Regions from separate parts of the Homo sapiens genome. Here region 1 is linked to region 2. Evidence: promoter capture Hi-C in 16 types of primary human blood cells and fetal thymus (Javierre and others, 2016). All regions are on one chromosome and are shown on one strand. The core of a region is centred on a gene start or on the middle of the fragment in contact, and the rest is flanking DNA. Distances in the headings are between cores, read along the strand shown. Region 1 holds the start of LOC124904432 (a long non-coding RNA gene). Region 2 holds the start of PYHIN1 (pyrin and HIN domain family member 1).

The links. Contacts are between HindIII fragments. The CHiCAGO score rates a contact against its expected background, and 5 or more counts as called.
Region 1: a contact is called between a fragment that was not itself captured here and the fragment with the promoter of PYHIN1 in region 2, in 1 of 17 cell types (non-activated CD4 T cells). The highest score is 5.1, in non-activated CD4 T cells.

What each region holds. Positions count from the first base shown.
Region 1 is chr1:159,013,205-159,016,109 of GRCh38, reverse strand. It overlaps IFI16 (interferon gamma inducible protein 16), which reads right to left. Exons shown (of 12, transcript NM_001376587.1): 2 at 1,165-1,449; 3 at 123-238. The coding sequence starts at 1,429. LOC124904432 (a long non-coding RNA gene) reads left to right here and starts at 2,060. Exons shown (of 2, transcript XR_007066671.1): 1 at 2,060-2,543; 2 at 2,630-2,905. RefSeq lists an enhancer at 1-1,093. The HindIII fragment of the contact is 2,831 bases long and covers 120-2,905 here.
Region 2 is chr1:158,930,302-158,932,801 of GRCh38, reverse strand. PYHIN1 (pyrin and HIN domain family member 1) reads right to left here and starts at 1,250. Exons shown (of 9, transcript NM_152501.5): 1 at 1,026-1,250. The HindIII fragment of the contact is 3,309 bases long and covers 731-2,500 here.

The sequences.
Region 1 (2,905 bases), core at 286-2,785, 83 kb before region 2:
GTAAATCTGAAACTTGATGGGAAACATGAAGAAATAACTGCCTGCTGGAGAGATTGAGTGGAAGAGCCGTAGCAGAGCTTCCTCTGTGGGACTTGAAGCCTGCTCCTCTTCCTGAAGCTTACCTGAGCTCCAGGAGTTGCCTCTGCTCCTTCAGTTTTGACAGTGCTGCTTGTGGAGGGTGCAGGTGAAGTAGCATCCACTTCCTTCTTCCTCTTTCTTGATAGGGCTGGTCCTTTTACTGGAATAGATTCAATTTTATTCCCAACCAATGCAGAAAAAAGGAAGACATATAAACGATCTCCGACAGCTGAAGCAGTTTCAATACAATTTGCTCTCAGTTCCTGCTTGAGGGTTCAGCTGTGCTTTAGTCTAGCTCTACTGCATTAGCCCAGCCTGGCCTTAAGGAGACCAGCAGTCACAAGACAGGAACAAGCACTGACTCATGCTCCTCAGCACTTTCCTCACTCCTCCCCTGTGCACTGAGCACATGCTTCCTGTTCTCTGAACTCCATGTGCTTCAGTTAACCCTTTCCCAATGCGGTTCTCCGATCATTTTGTTTTAAAAACTAATGTTTTCATGATGGAGACTGCTAGGTCACATTCCCCAGGTAAAGATATTCAAATTATAGAAACCAGCCAAAGGTTTCCATGAGGAAGGATATACTGATTTTGGACTTAGACTTTTTCAAATCCTTTTTTTTAACTTGATATAACAAGAGAGGAGATCACACTTCTGAGAGGCAGGCTCACATGTAAGTATTGCATTTTTTTAAATTATAAAGGGTAGTGATGGGTTAAATGGTCTCAATAGAACAGATACATTCATTGGCTAAATGTACATATCTTGAATTTAAACAGTTTTTATGATTTTATTATTATATAATCTTTCTAATGTACTGGAAGTCTCAGTCCCCCTTCAACTCCCTCTCACTTTTGTTCTTTCACTGATCCCAAATATACATTCTGAAATACTTCAATCTACACCAGTAATGGAATGCACTAAGTTGTCAACTTGTTGGCCTCTGAAGTACCAACATTGTCTCAGCTGTTGAGTCACAAACTGGGGAAAACACATCTCAAGTATGTCCGAGGTGGGGCTCTAATCAATGTTGGGGAGGGTTTGGGGATGGTTGCAGGGAGTGGGTGTTCCCTCTTCCCAATTACCTTTTAACTTTTCTTTTTTAAGAGTTTCAGCCAGGTCTTCAAGCGTTGGTATATCTTCGAAAATTTTTATTAGTTTGCCCAAACCAGCATCACCTCGGAACTTTTCTTCCATCAAGTCAGCAATCTGAATTTTGTCATACTCTTCTCTCATTTTTAAATTAAGTTTTAAATCGTTGCTCAGTAAGGACTTAACCATTCTAAAATGATAATCATTGATGACCTCTAATCCTTTTAGTAGAACAATGTTCTTGTATTTTTTTCCCATCTTTACAGACATAAGTGAGCCTACAAGAGAAAATGGTATATACAGTGTTACACATGTATACAGACAATTTAAAAGATGTATGCCTATGTGAGTGAGTGGCCCATATGAAAGAGTTGTTCATGAATATGTGTGATAAAGAAGGACTCAACGACCAAATGTGTTACTGTAGAAATTGAGTGAAGAACTGCTGGGTTAGGAATGTCTAAGAAATTATTCCCATTGAATGAGAATAGTTGAGTTGGGTCCAGTTGTTAGAGGGAGGTCTGAGAACAAGCAATTGCCTCAGTGTTAAGAGTATGAGCTCTGCAGTGTCAAAGCCCTTGGTTCCTCTTCTTATCCTTTACTGGGGCTGAAGCCTATTCCCCAAATCCTGCCTGTTGTTTCTTAAATCTTCCCACACCCAGTATGACTGGAGCGGCCTAGGTGTAAATGGGCTGCAGCCTCCCACCTTATATGAATAACTTTCTGCTACAGCGCTACAGTTTCATGCTGTGGCACTGACCCTATTCTCCTTGACTCTTCCCTAGTTGGCTTTCATTAGCATCCTCCCTTCTTTGGTGCTAGACCATGGCTTCTGTTCTCTGTACCCATAAAACCATAACTTTGCTGAAAATCTGCATGCTTTCTAGTGCAGCATCACAGTATTTATTCACTGAAATGATTTTATTGGTTGTTTTATTTTTCTTCTTTCAGACTTGATTTGTCTAATTATTTCTTTTCGCACAATCAGTTTTCTCTCGATAAGCCACATTTATATTCCACTGAAATCCTTCAATATTTCTCCTTTTTCTTCCCCAAAATTCCTTGCTTCCTATACTGTCTCAGAAAGTGTTGAATAAGCTGCATCTTTTTTACTTCTAGTACCTTTGTACTCCTTGTATCTATGCTTCACAAAGATGCCGGACACCTTGTGTCTTCATGCCTCATGACTTTGCTAGTTCCTTCTTACTGCCTGGAAAGCCATTCCCACATTTCTTTCTTTGACTACTTCCCATACAACCTTAAGACTCAACTGAGGCTTTGTCTCATGGTAGATTTCAGAGTCTCCCTATGGACAGAGTGTCACTGCTCTTGACCTCTTAACACCTGTACACTTCCATGATGACAGTGCAAGGTATGGATTCCAAAACTTTTAAATTAATGAATTTTTTAATTTTAGGAATGATGTCTTTGTGTATAACCAAGATATCTAAATTTCAGGGGCTATTAATTGGGCCAGGCGCAGTGGCTCACGCCTGTAATTCCAGCATGTTGGGAGGCCGAGGTGGTCGAATCACAAGTTCCGGAGATCAAAAGCATCCTGGCTAACACAGTGAGACCTCGTTTCCACTAAAAATACCAAAAATTAGCCAGGTGTGGTGGCAAGCGCTTGCAGTCCCAGCTACTCGGGAGGCTGAGGCAGGAGAATTGCTTGAACCCAGGAGACGGAGGTTGCAGTGAGCGGAGATCGTGCCACTACACTCCAGCCTGGGTGAC
Region 2 (2,500 bases), core at 1-2,500:
GCAGGAAGTAATCTTAAAATGAATAAAAAACTGCCTTTCACATCTGGTATAGAATGATGCTAATGTAAAAGTTAAACATACTTATGAAAATATTGACACATTTGAATTATTTGAATTATTTGAATAATTGTGTTTGCAAAATGGATACATTTTCTACTATGTGTTTGCACTTGTAGAATAATATTATTTACAAAATGTTCTCACATATGTTTTTGTGTGAGAACATGTTTTGTAAAATTGAGATACCGTAAAATACAGCTGTATGTCTAGATGTGTTTTTTACTTAATATTATTTCCTGATACTTTGTGCACATCATTATCTTGTCTTATTTTATCTTCTACTTTCATTTTAGGTTCAGAGGGTACATGTGCAGGCTTGTTAAATGAGTAAACTGTGTGTCGCTGAGGCTTGTTGTCTGGTGATCCCATCACCAAGGTAGCGACATAGTACCAGATAGATAGCCTTCCAACCCACATACTGCTCCCACCTTTCCTCTCAAGCAGTCCCCAGCGTCTACCGTTCCCATCTTGTGCCCATATGGATTCAATGTTTAACTTCCACTTATAAGTGAGAACATGCAGTATTTGGTATTCCTGTGTTAGTTCACTTAGGGTAATGTTCTCTAGCCGTATCCATGTTATGCATATACAGCGTGGAATACTATGCATCCATAAAAAAGAATGAAATCATTATCTTGTCTTTTGCCCAGACCCCAATGGCCACCAAGCTTTCTAACCTCAGAGAATATATACTCAGAGAATTTGTTTTAAAATCTGCAATGGTCAAAATGCATATTCCTTCATTCATGCCCCAGTTGTAGAATAAAGGATATCTACTATCTTTGAAGTAAGTAAAGAATTGGAAGTATTAACTGCAGTTTTCACTTTTCTGAATATAGTTGATACCAGCCCTACTGCCCTCACCCCACTGCCCTGAAGAACCAATATCGATTTTTCCCTTGTGATTTTGTGGCTTTCAAGGAAGCATCTAGATCTTTTCTATAAAAAATACCCACAGTACTCACCTTACTGGGAATTTCTTCAACAGTAGTCCAGATCTTGAGATCTTCAGAAATGTAGGAAATGAGGATTGTTTTGAATAGGGAAATCAGTCAGTAAAGCTCTCAGAAACTGAAATACAGGATGTTATAATCTCCTGAAATGCTAAGAAAATGAAGTATTTTCAAAGACAACAAGGGAAAATGGCCCTTCTTAGAGTCACTTGACTAGTGCTGGCTTCCTCATACTCTGCTTTGCCCTGGGGAGAGAGAAGTTGTGAAACAACGTGCAGACTCCTCCCACCCATATTTTTTGCTTTCCATCCTGTTAGAGAAAATGAACAGTTTCTTTCCTGTAGGTATCTTAATCAAAGTAAAATTTGTATCAAAGTTATATTTAAAATTTTTTTTCTTACAAATGTTGATATCTGAATGGAGTTCCAATCTTAGAACTTTCTTAACCAGCAGACTTACATGTGGGACATTAGGGACCTCTATTCCGATGAATGATTGTCAAATATGAGAGAAGCAAGGTGGTTTCTTCTCCCTCCTTTCCTGTGCGGTTGCAGGGGGAGATCTTGGTAGGAGCATCTATTGCTACCAGTACTTTACTGCATCTCCTGCATGGGAGAATGTCTGCTATGAAATAGCAGTTGGTTTAAATACTACCTGAAGCATTCACCCAGTTATTAATAGTTGACAAACCTAGGGCTTTCCAGATCAGAAAGTTATTATGAATATATAAATCCTTTCTCAAATATATATAAAGGAGTTTAACACTAGCTGTCCTCTTGACTATGACTAGGTTATTTTACCTCAATGATTACATTCATGATTCCTCAGGTTTCCTTCATTATTCATGGAAAAACACAAGTGGATAGTGGGCTCACAACATGACAGCATCGAAGCCTTGAAAATCCTGGAAAATGCACTGAACTTCTGGTAGACCGAGAGTCCTGTTAAACCCTTTGCTCAGCAGTATTTTTTCTGTTAAGGGCAGTGGGTGTCCTTCAGAGTACTAAAACCCCAAGATGTCAAATAAACGACACCAACTGGCAGATGATGTTGTGTTAACCCAGCAGCAGATCTGCAAGCAGGATGTGGCCATGAGTGGAAAATGGGGCCCGAAATACAGCTGTAGGGGAGAAAACAAGTTTTTTTTAAATTTCCCTTTTTAGGTTATTAGTTGACACTCTCCTGAAAACAAACGTCAAATTAACAAAAGAAAAACAAGCAGTTTATTAATGTGTGCTCTACTCATCACAAGGGATAGGCCTCAGTTCAAAAGTATTTCTCTCTCCAGGCTGTGGCTTAGAAACCTTGTTTAAATAGTATTTCAATAAAGAGCCATACGTTCTATATAGTGAAAAGCAAAGGAGAAAGCAGTTCCAGTCATTTAAAAGGTGGGAAAACGTGGGAAGGTAGTAAAATCTGTTCCCAGATTCCTCAGGTTCCTGGTGGCGCCTTCTCCGGGCTGAAAAGCAAGTGCTTTCTCCAGTAAA